Regions from separate parts of the Homo sapiens genome. Here regions 2, 3 and 4 are each linked to region 1. The links are contacts of gene promoters, found by promoter capture Hi-C in blood cells and fetal thymus (Javierre and others, 2016). All regions are on one chromosome and are shown on one strand. The core of a region is centred on a gene start or on the middle of the fragment in contact, and the rest is flanking DNA. Distances in the headings are between cores, read along the strand shown.

Region 1 (2,923 bases), core at 132-2,631:
CTAATATGCCCACATTATAACACCTTCATTTCTCCCCAGTGTAGAGCAATGTCTTCCTAAAGGATGAATGAAAATATTACCTCACACTTCTCTTAGTTCCCAGAATCTTAATATCACCAATGTTAAGGAATTTGTGGGGATAAAAGCAGAGTGTTGCTTATTTACTTCATTGAAAAAAAAAAAAGCTGTCGAGTAATGCTTAAGAGCTACTAATATTTATTGGCAAGCTAATTGTAACATTCAAGGTAAATATGTAGCTATAAAGTACTGCAATCACATAAATGAACAAATATGTATCAGCTAACATATAACACTGAACAAAATCAGTCTTTATTAAACCAAGCCTTCCTTCATAATGCTTTTTGCTTAAAATTCTGGAAATTTTAAAATATGAAATTGTGATGTGTCAGCATTATTTTTGCAGTATTATTAAGAAATAGATTGACTATACCACAACTTGATTTATTTCGTTAATATAATATAAGAAGGATAATACAAACATCAGAAGATTCTTTCACAGTTAGATTGAAAGTGCACACTTAGGCAGCTAGTAGCTAACTCTCCAAATGTTCCTTAATGATTTTCTTGTACAGCAGGGCTTGCAGATCCAAGCAAATTTTCCTCCCATTCTTCAGCGTGGCTCTGGCAGGGAAAAGAGAAGAGACGTGACTTTCAGTCCTTGGGTTTGCAAATGGCATTAGAAGGGGGAGGGATGGGCAGAGGAGGCACGGAGCGGGAGCACTAACTGATGCAGTGCGAGGACTCACATGAGTTGGGCAGTGGGGCAGTGGGGTCCGGCCTTGATCACCTCCAGGCTGGTGATGTGCCTGGGACGGACCTGGGAGGTGGTCTTCACACACAGGCACTGCAGGTCCCCATCTTCTTCAGCTTCAGCTGAGGGGGAAAGGGAGGGAGTAAGAGAGGAGGAGGGGTGGGAGTTGTGACTCCCTGAGTAGCCAGAGATACTTTAGGGACCTTTTCCACTACCTTCAGCTTTCTTTTCCTTAGCCGTAAATCAGACCTCTCTCAGACAGAGGTTGTGCTGATCAGGTGGCGAGGTGCACGTGCAGTGCCTGGCACTGTACCCGCAGACTCAGCACGCGCGCAATAAGAGCAGCTGCGATCATGATCCTAGAGGATTCCTCCCCAGCCCCAGGGCTTCCCGGACTCCCCCTCGCCGCTGCTGGCCCTCCCAGCCTGGTTTCTGCTCTCACCTCTGGCGAAGGCGACCACAACTGGCAGGAGCAGCAACGCCAAGAACAGCATCTCCTGGCGGGTGGCGCGGGTGAGGCGGGACCTGGCTGCGGAGCTCATGTTGCAGCTGAGGTTCCAGCAGGATCCCAGTGCGCAGGGAAAGTCGGGCTGGGGTTCTGCAGGCAGTGACTCCTGGCCTCACCAGGCTTCTTTTATCCCCCGTCACTGTCCCACTGTCCTTCCAGTCCGGAAGCCTGGGGTGGACAGCGAGGAACTGTGGTGCAGGAGCTAAGACACTGCTATGAAGACTCAGACTCTGGCCAGCCAAGATTACAAAACAAAAGGCTGGGGGCAGCTGCCTTGGCTAGGAGGTGGTACAAAGATGCATACCTCCAACCTCAGTTTATATACACTTACATTTGTGGAGTTAGAAACACTACTTGCATCTTAGAAGAGAAATATTTTCTGTGTTGTATCATAGTAGAGTTCTCTGTAGTCACCAAGCAACTTACACAGCAGGTGGCTTCAGGACCCAGACAGTTCTTGTTTCCTTCTCAACTCAAGAACTGCCCATATGCTCCTAACTTCAGTCTTGATTACCATTGAGTTTGATGGCTGTGTGTTTGAAGAGTGTGCTATTTGCAATTGTTTTCTAATACTAATAAGTTTAATTTGGTCTCTAGGTGATGACTCTTCTGAATTTCACCTGAATGTGGAAAACTTCCCTAGTCTCTGGATGAGATTTACCAGGCTCCACCAACAATCACCCAGTATACTGTAGGATGCAAGATCTATTTCCCGTTACTCTTAGAAAAATTGCAGAAGTAATATTTGAATGCATTATTTTTATAAAAACTTAGCTCCTGGATGTTTCTTCATTGTTTCAATCCTGAATAATAGTCCAGAAGAGAGGACAAGGAGAGTTTGCCAGGCCATGTCTTCCAGAGCCTGCTGTGTCCTCAGTCACTGCCAGTGACAGGGTGAGATGGGCTGCACTGTTGGCAGGGAGCAGTGATGCTCTCTGTGGGAGGATTCAGGGCATCTGGGAGTTGGGTGTGAGAATGATGGGAGGTGACAGTGAAGGGGATGCAACAGAATCCCACACGGGAAAGGGGAAGAGATCCATATCGACCGTTTTCTCTTCTCTAAAAAAGAATGACTTTGGCTCTTGATCAGGGCAAGGTACACCCTCAACCCAAAGCCCAAGGTTCCCTGTCACTCTGACTAACAGTGGTGAAGGGTGTCAGGGACCCACTGGATGGAACTAGCTGATATTCTAATGCTCAGCAAACCTGCATTTTTGTAGGAATATGCAATTCTTTCTCCTACTCTCCCTACACCTGCCTATTCAGCTGGCTAAGACCTATTCATATTTCTGGTGTCAGCTTAAATATCACTTCCTCAGGTGTGCCTTCCCTGACAGCTATATATAATTGTGTTCCCTTGTTGTTCTATCTTGCAGAACTCTGTTCTTCGTATTTCTCACAGAATACACAAACATACACACACATATATTGTAGATATATATATATATATGTGTGTGTATGTGTATCTGTGTATTTAAAAGTGTTTAAAATTGTTTTGTTTCTTAAATGGAAAACACTGTGACATTAGATATCATAACGTTTATCACTATTTCAATGTACTGGTAGGGACTCAGTGCAAAGTAGCTACAGTAGTGAAGATAATGTGTTGAAAATGATGATGATGAGGCTTTGACGTGTTCCTA
Region 2 (2,923 bases), core at 150-2,649, 760 kb after region 1:
TACTCAGGAGGCTGAGGCAGAAGGATCACCTGAACCCGAGAGCTCAAGGCTGCAGTGAGCTGTGATTGCACTGTTGCGCTCCAGCCTGGGTAACAGAGCAAGACCTGTCTCAAAAAGAAAAAAAAAAAAAGGCTCTCTATATTATATGCTAAATATGAGGAGAAGTGAAAAATAAGGTCGTCATTTGTTATTTAAAAATAAATTTTTAAAAATTGGGTAGTAGACTACCTTTATCATTTAAAAATTCTACATCTGTTCCATATTTAATGTACTTTCCCTCTCTTTGTTAAAGATTGTCAGAAACTATCAGTGAAGGGACCAGTAATTCTCTATCTACTTGTACAAAATCTGGTCCATCTCCCCTTTCTTCTCCAAATGGGAAGTTAACAGTAGCAAGTCCTAAGCGTGGGCAAAAGAGGGAAGAAGGATGGAAAGAAGTTGTAAGAAGGTGAGTAATTGTTTTTGTCATTCTTTTTATGTGCTATATATCACAGTCAAGTGTTATCTACCTTATAATTAAATTCCTCCTACTCTTCTAAAGGTTGCAAACAAACTGATGGTTCAAGGCTAAATTTGACCAACAGAGAGAGCCTGTGCCATATTTTAGATGAAAAAAATTACGTGTTAATTTGGCCCCTCAAAAGTATTGGAGTTTGCTTTGAGAACTATTTTAGATTGTGTCTTTCTCAGCTTCGTTATCTCAAAGCCTTATATAATACAAAGAAGTATTATAAAAGCTACTTGTAAACATTTGATGAATTAGTAGGTATTGATGTTAAACTGTTGATCTAATCATAGTAACTGTTGTCTTTAAATCATAAGATAACTTTATTTTAAGGGTTTCAGGATAAAAATATTTTGTTTTGCATGGGATTTTAAAAATAATATGTATCCAAGAGTAAAAATACAATATCTCAGAAACGTAAAAGGAGGTAAGACACCTGAAATCCAGAAAGAATGTGATCCATTGTCACTCTTTGATAACTTATTTTAAAGAACTTTCCGGAAATTTCGTAAAAATTTAAACTTTTGGTTATCTGAAACAAAAGCTATAGTGAACCAAACTTAGTAACTACTGTTAATCCCTAAGTGCAGTATACAGGTTTTTGGCTTATTTCCTCCGTATTTTAGACCAAATCTTGTCCCCGTCATACCTATGTTTATTTCTGTCTCTATTTTCACACACTATACACACATTCTTTCTTTCACTCCTTCACATACACACTCTATTGGATTAATTGAAATCACATCATCAGAATATTCTCTATACACTAATAAGATAATTTGGTTTTTGTATATGCATTTAATACTGTGTTATACAGTTTGGAAATGATGATCACTGGCTGATTATCATGCTCTTTAGGTTAAAAAGAGTTGTTAGGTAACTTAGTTGTATATATAGAGAACAGGGATCATGCCCTTCCTTTTAGAAAATATGACAATTTTTAATACTTAACCATTCTCAATAAATAATTTGCTTGTTTATTGAACTATACTTGACTGCTTCTCTTTATTGAGAACTTTATACTGTATTTCTTTTAGAAATATTGTTTAATCAGCTTATCAGGAATTCGGGCCTGACACCTGTGGCTCATGTCTATAATCCCAGCATTTTGGGAGGCCAAGACAAGAGGATCACTTGAGACTATGAGTTCAAGACCAGCCTGGGCAACATAGCAAGACCCCATCTCTGCTAAAAACAAAATTAAAAAATTAGCTGGGCATGTGGTTTGTGCTTGTAATCTCAGCTACTTGGGAAAGGTGGGAGGATTGCTTATGCCCAGGAGTTTGAGGCTGCAGTGAGCTATGATCACACCACTGCATTCCAGCCTGGGTACAGAACGAGACTCTGTCAAAAAAAAAATAATAATAAAGGAAATCTATAATCTATATCTGAATGTTTAAAATTAAAATGTAATTTTGCAAGTATTAGATGGATATTGCTTTTTTTTTTTTTTTTTTGAGATGGAGTTTTACTCTTGTTGCCCAGGCTAGAATGCAATGGCGTGATCTCGGCTTGCTGCAACCTCTGCCTCCCAGGTTGAAGTGATTCTCCTGCCTCTGCCTCCCGAGTAGCTGGGATTACAGGTGCATGCCACCATGCCCGGGTAATTTTTTGTATTTTTAGTAGAGATGAGATTTCACCATGTTGGCCAGGCTGGTCTTGAACTCCTGACCTCAGGTGGACCACCCACCTTGGCTTCCCAAAGTGCTGGGATTACAGGCGTGAGCCACCGTGCCCGGCCTCAGATTTTGCTTTTTAAATTCTAGTAGGATTTTCTTTTTCCGGACATTATTAAAGATTTTTAGAAAGTTTTCATATTTGTGGATGGTCATTTTAATGCTACTATAAGAATACAGGGAAGTAATGAATATTTTTTCTTTTTTCCTGAGAAGGAGTTTCACTCTGTCACCCAGGCTGGAGTGCAGTGGTGCAATCTCAGTCCACAGCAACCTCCATCTCCCGGATTCAAGTGATTCTCCTGCCTCAGCCTCCTGAGTAGCTGGGATTACAGGTGCACACCACCATGCCTGGCTAATTTTTGTATTTTTTTCAGTAGAGACAGGATTTCACTATGTTGGCCAGGCTGGTCTCGAACTCCTGACATAAAGTGATCTGCCTGCCTTGGCCTCCCAAAGTGCTGGGATTACAGGCATGAGCCACCACTCCCAGTCATGAATTTTTAACATCACTCTTTGAGTTATGTATATTAGAGAATAAAAAGAAGCATATGAGTAAAGCACCAAAAGGGGCCCACAAGAAGTCTTTCTTGACTCTTGAGGCTAGATTAGATGCCCAACCAGTATATATACACACACACATATAATATATATATATACACATATATACATGTATATATTATACGTATATACATATATATGTCTATATATACATATATGTATATATAATACATTTGTGTGT
Region 3 (2,923 bases), core at 424-2,923, 740 kb after region 1:
ACAAAAACAGATTGAGTATCCCTAATTGGAAAAGCTCCAAAGTATGGAACTTTTTGAGCCCTGTTATGACACTCAAAGGAAATGCTCTTTGGAGCATTTCAGACTTCAGATACTGGATTTCAGATTAGGGATGGTCAAATTGTATATGAATACAAATAATCTGAAACGGTTACAGTTGCCTCATAGGATATTGTTTGTGTAGTATAATTCTGAGAGCAAGACATATTTACATCTTTGAATATTGAAAACAATTTTTATCTTTACAGAATATTTTCACATGTTGATAGTTGATTTTTGTTACTGTGTCATTTCATTCTATTTAAGACAATGCTAGGCTAGGTGTGGTGACAATGCCTATAATTCCAGCACTTTGAGAGGTTGAGGCAGGAGGATTACTTGAGCCCAGGAGTTCGAGACCAGCCTGGGTAACATAGGAAGACTCCATCTCCACAAGAAATTTAAAAATTAGCTGAGCGTGGTGGCATGGGACTGTAGTCCCAGCTACTCTGGAGGCTGAGGTAGGAGAATCATATGACCCCTGGAGGTGGAGGCTGCAGTGAGCCATGATCTCACCACTGCACTCCAGCCTGTGTGACAGAGCAAGACCCTGTATCAAAAAAAAAAAAAAAAAAAAAAAAGACAATGCTATCTGTGTCATTGGTTTTTAGGGGAGCTCATATTGATGTACGTAACAAGAAGGGGAACACTCCATTGTGGCTAGCAGCAAATGGTGGACACCTCGATGTGGTTCAGTTACTGGTGCAAGCAGGTGCAGATGTGGATGCAGCAGATAACCGCAAGATAACTCCTCTTATGGCAGCATTTAGAAAGGTATAAGTCTTTCATCCTCATTTACCTGGATGTTTTTTTACTTACACTAGGAAGTACATGGCTTAGTGATCACTAAAGACTCATTTTGTGCTTTTGCAGCTGTGATGAAAGCAATAATATGCAAATAATTACTCTTATGGCAACATTAAATGTAGATATATACAGGTTTTTCAGAAAAGCCATTAATTTTAACCTTATTGGACATCAGAGCTAAGTAAACTTTTAAAAAGCTGTTCTAAGTAATGTGTTCAAAATCTAGTTGCAGTCTTAATCTTCACAAAGTGTAAATCCAGTTAAGATACTTAAGTAAGTACCTCCAGTTAGTTACTCTTAGTGAGTGTTTTCTTGTATTACCACTACAGAGAAAAATATCACTTAAACTGGTTATTTTGCTGGGGGCGGGGGTTGTGCCACGCATGGTGGCTCATGCCTGTAATCTCAGCACTTTGGGAGGCCAAGGCAGGCAGATGTAGCGAAGCCCTGCCTCTACAAAAATTATAAAAATTAGCCGAGCGTGGTGACATGTGCTAATAGTCCCAGCTACTCAGGAGGCTGAGATAGGAGGATGGCTTGAGCCTGAGAGGCAAAGGTTGCAGTGAGCTGAGATTGCACCACCGCACTCCAGCCCGGGTGACAAGAGTACGACCCCGTCTCAAAAAAAATTTGTTTTCATTTCAATTATTGACTTTACTAGGAAAAAAAATGAATTAAATAATGAAAATGCCACTACCAGCATTTTAAACTACTAAGTTTCAAGTATATTACATTTAAAGGTAAAAATACAAATTCCGTGAAAGTAAAACAAACTTTCTCTTTCTGTACATAGCACAGAGCTGTGTGTAAGTAATTTGATTTAATGGTTTGTTTGATAATCCATTGATCTCTTAAATCCAGCTTTAGTTTGTTATTGGGAATATCAGATTACTGTTACAGGGATTATAATTTTGAGTTTTGTCATTTGGAGATATGTAGATAAAATTCCCTGTAGATGCCAAAATGTTGAAAATTTTTAATAAATAAATCACAATAAGCTATTTCTTCCTTTTTCTCTTATTATCTCTGACCGCTGTTCTTTATTCTACCTCTTCCCTAGATAATCTGGACTACCAGTGACTCTGTATTTTTGACTCTCTATATTTTTGTTTCTCAGCAATCCAACTTATTCCTTCTCACTGGCTAGCTGCCTCTTCTCCAAGCAAGCTAGCATATCATTATCAAGTTAATCTTTCTAACCACTCTACTATATTAGAGAACCTCTTCAAGAACCTTTCTGTGTCTCCCCAGTTTCTGAAATCATTTGAAATCCAATCTTAGTTTGGTATTCACAGCCACCACAATTTAGTGCTTGTAGATCTTATCTCCCATTAGAATCCTTAATGTGGAGAATTATCTTCTTGCTTGGTCTTTTCCTTGTTCCTATCTCTCACATCACCTTTGTTCTCATCTCATAGAATGCCCATGTCTTTCTTCATTTTTCCAAAGTTACTCATTCTTTAGTTATAGTTGAAGTCTCTCCTACCAAACTCTTCATCCTATTTGAGTTCACATCGAGATCTCTAATCTCTAGAGGTCGTACAAGTTTGACAGTGTTTATCATTCATTTGGAGAAATACATATTTTTATATGTTATTACTCTAACTATTAGAGTTGTTATTTTTATTAGTTATTACTCTAGTATCTAACATGCATATATCTTTCCAGATAGACTTATTGACTTCAGTTGAGCAGTGCTTATCTTTTATACTCTTATGTATTTGTTCCATTATTTCTTGAGTACCTAACATGTGCAACTGTGGGCTAGAGTACTATATTATATAGGGTGCAACATAGTATATGTTGTGTATATATGTCTATATACATTGTCTATATATGTATATACATATTGTCTATATATGTATATATAACATATACTATGTTATATAGGGTACAATATGGAAAGGTAAGATCCATACCCAAAGTTAGGTAACTGTTTGAGTTGTCCCATGTAAATAGTTTAAACACTGTAGAAGTATTAGAGAGATCCTTAGGGAATGATGCAAGTGGCATTTGAGCTATTCATTTAGAGAAAAGTTTAGAAACATGCAGTCTAAAA
Region 4 (2,923 bases), core at 181-2,680, 520 kb after region 1:
CAGAAGTCAAGAATTGGGGTTTGGGAACCTCCGCCTAGATTTCAGAAGATGTATGGGAATGCCTGAATGGCCAGGCAGAAGTTTGCTGCAGGGACAGGGCTCTCATGGAGAACCTCTGCTAGGACAGTGCAGAAGGGAAATGTGGGGTTGGCTCTCTGCGTGGGGTTGGGCCCTCTTGCATCAGTGTGACCTGGATGTGAGACCTGGAGTCAAAGGAGATTATTTTGGAGCTTTAAAATTTGACTGCCCCACTGGATTTTGGACTTGCATGGGCCCTGTAACTGTTTTGTTTTGGCCAATTTCTCCCATTTGGAACAACTGTATTTACCCAATACCTGTACCCCCATTGTATCTAGGAAGTAACTAGCTTGCTTTTGATTTTACAGGCTCATAGGCAGAAGGGACTTGTCTTGTCTCAGATGAGACTTTTTACTGTGGACTTCTGGGTTAATGCTAAAATGAGTTAAGACTTTGGGGGACTGTTGGGAAGGCGTGATTAGTTTTGAAATGTGAGGACATGAGATTTGGAGGGGCCAGGGGTGGAATGATATGGTTTGGCTCTGTGTCCCCACCCAAATCTCATCTTGAATTGTAATCCCATAATTCCCACATGCGGTGAGAGGGACCCAGTGGAAGATAATTTGAATCATGGGGGCAGTTTCTCCCATACTGTTCTTGTGGTAGGTTAATAAGTCTCATGAGATCTGATGGTTTTATCAGGATTTCCCCTTTTACATCTTTGTCATTTTTCTCTTGCCGCCACCATGTAAGAAGTGCCTTTTATCCCTCGCCATGATTCTGAGGCCTCCCCAGCCATGTGGAACTGTAAGTTCCTAATTAAACCTCTTTTTCTTCCCAGTCTCAGGTATGTCTTTATCAGCAGCATGAAAATGGACTAATACAATAGCCCAATTTAAAAATGGGCAAAGGAAGTGAATAGATAGTTCTCCAAAAAGGATATACAAATGGTCAATAAGCACTTGAAAAGATGATCAACATTATTAGCCACCAGGGAAATGAAAATCAAAACCACCAGATGTCATTTCACACCCAATAAGATGACTACCTGAAAAAAGATAGACAATAACAAATGTTAGCAAGAATGTGGAGATATTCAAATTCTCATATATTGCTCATGGGACTGTAAAATGGTGGTAGCCACTTTGGAAAATAGTCTGACAGTTTCTCAAAGGGTTAAACAGAGTTACCACATGATCCAGCAATTCCACTCCTAGGTATATACCCAAGAAAAATAAAAACGTATCTACACAAAAACGCACACACAAATGTTCATAGCAGCAGTATTCATAATAGCATAAAAGAGAAACCACCCAAATGTCCATCAATTGATGAACGGATAAACAAAATGTAGTATATTTATACAATGAAATATTGTTTAATAATAAAAAGAAATGAAGTAATGATACATGCCACTACATGCATAAACCTTGAAAACACGTTAAGTGAAAAACCTATCACAAAGGACCACATATTCCATGATTTCATTTATATGAATTTTCAAGAGTGGGAAAATTACAGAAAGTAGATTGGCAGTTGCCTGATGCTGGAGAGGAAAAGGAGATTGTAGGGTGATGGCTAGGGAATGTGGGTTTTTTGGAGGGGGTAATGACAATGTACTAAAATTGTGTTGATGGATGCATAACTCTGTGAATATACTAAAAACCCTTGAATTGTACACTTTAAGTGGGTGAATCATATGGCATGTGAATTATATCTTTAAAAACCATAATAAATTTACTTGTGATGGTCATTCAGGAATATTTTACTTTGCACACAGAAGCACAGGGGCATGTGATGATGCCGAGACAAAATCTTAGGTCAGACATAAATATGAAAACTGCAAGTCTCTAAAGCCTCATGTAGCTGCTCCTCAGAAACATATTTAAGACATAATTGGTTTCAAAAACAAGAAAGTTAGTGAACAAACAAAAGAAAAGCATATAAAGTAGTAAAACTGCTGCAAAGATTACCTTGATGATATTAAAGACATAAGTTCATGGGAATAAGTCACTGCCATAGGCAAAGAGAACTTACTTTCAGGTTCTCTTTGCTACAGTGAGCAGAGAGAAAAATGAATCAATGTTCTTGTGCCATAAATGAAGTATGGATAAACTTAGACACTTTTTAGCTTCTTTAACCAGGCTTAAAATGACAAAAAGCAATATATAGTCAAAACATTACTTCTGGAGAAGCCCTACTCTTGAATTTATCTTTGGAAATTAAGAATTGCCAAGGAATATTGCCATTTGGGGGTAGGCATGCAATATTGTAATAATTAATTTCTTTTGAAAAATATCCATTTTTACTTAGAAGAACCATTCAGTAATTCAAGGCAGAAATTTCTTTTTAATATTTAATTTTAATTTTTGTGGGTACATAGTAAGTGTATACAATTATGGGGTACATGAGATGTTTTAATGCAGGCATGCAATGTTTAATAATCACATCATGTAAAATGGGGTATCCATCCCCTCAAGAATTTATCCTTTGTGTTATAAACAATCCAATTATATTCTTTTTATTATTTTTAATGTACTATCGAGTTATTATTGACTATAAAAAGTGACCCTATTGTGCTATCGATTACTAGGTCTAACTCTTTCTATTTTTTCTGTACCCATTAACCATTGTCCCCAGCCCCCCACTACTTTTCCCAGCCTCTGGTAACCATCCTTCTACTCTCTATGTCCGTGAATTCAATTGTTTTGATTCTTAGATCCCACAAATAAATCAGAACATGTGAAGTTTGTCTTTTCTGTGCCTGGCTTATTTCACTTGGCATAATGACCTCCAGTTCCATCCATGTTGTGGCAAATGACAGGATCCCATTCTTTTTATGACTCAGTAGTACTCCATTGTGTATAAGCACCACACTTTATCCATTCATCTGTTGATGGACACT

What was found. Contacts are between HindIII fragments. The CHiCAGO score rates a contact against its expected background, and 5 or more counts as called.
Region 2: a fragment that was not itself captured here is called in contact with the fragment with the promoter of PF4V1 in region 1 in 1 of 17 cell types (neutrophils); the score reaches 5.7 in neutrophils.
Region 3: a fragment that was not itself captured here is called in contact with the fragment with the promoter of PF4V1 in region 1 in 1 of 17 cell types (neutrophils); the score reaches 8.5 in neutrophils.
Region 4: a fragment that was not itself captured here is called in contact with the fragment with the promoter of PF4V1 in region 1 in 1 of 17 cell types (fetal thymus); the score reaches 5.8 in fetal thymus.

The regions. Positions count from the first base shown.
Region 1 is chr4:73,851,754-73,854,676 of GRCh38, reverse strand. It overlaps PF4V1 (platelet factor 4 variant 1), which reads right to left and starts at 1,381. Exons shown (of 3, transcript NM_002620.4): 1 at 1,215-1,381; 2 at 768-894; 3 at 194-642. The coding sequence starts at 1,314. The coding sequence ends at 555. The HindIII fragment of the contact is 5,836 bases long and covers 1-2,923 here.
Region 2 is chr4:73,094,642-73,097,564 of GRCh38, reverse strand. ANKRD17 (ankyrin repeat domain 17) reads left to right here. Exons shown (of 34, transcript NM_032217.5): 27 at 293-448. Among named protein-coding and RNA genes, the nearest start is that of COX18, 26 kb to the right of the region's middle. The HindIII fragment of the contact is 3,504 bases long and covers 1-2,923 here.
Region 3 is chr4:73,116,596-73,119,518 of GRCh38, reverse strand. ANKRD17 (ankyrin repeat domain 17) reads left to right here. Exons shown (of 34, transcript NM_032217.5): 22 at 669-831. Among named protein-coding and RNA genes, the nearest start is that of COX18, 48 kb to the right of the region's middle. The HindIII fragment of the contact is 7,075 bases long and covers 1-2,923 here.
Region 4 is chr4:73,336,603-73,339,525 of GRCh38, reverse strand. All of the region lies in intron 3 of ANKRD17-DT (ANKRD17 divergent transcript), which reads right to left. Among named protein-coding and RNA genes, the nearest start is that of ALB, 66 kb to the left of the region's middle. RefSeq lists an enhancer at 1-440. The HindIII fragment of the contact is 6,759 bases long and covers 1-2,923 here.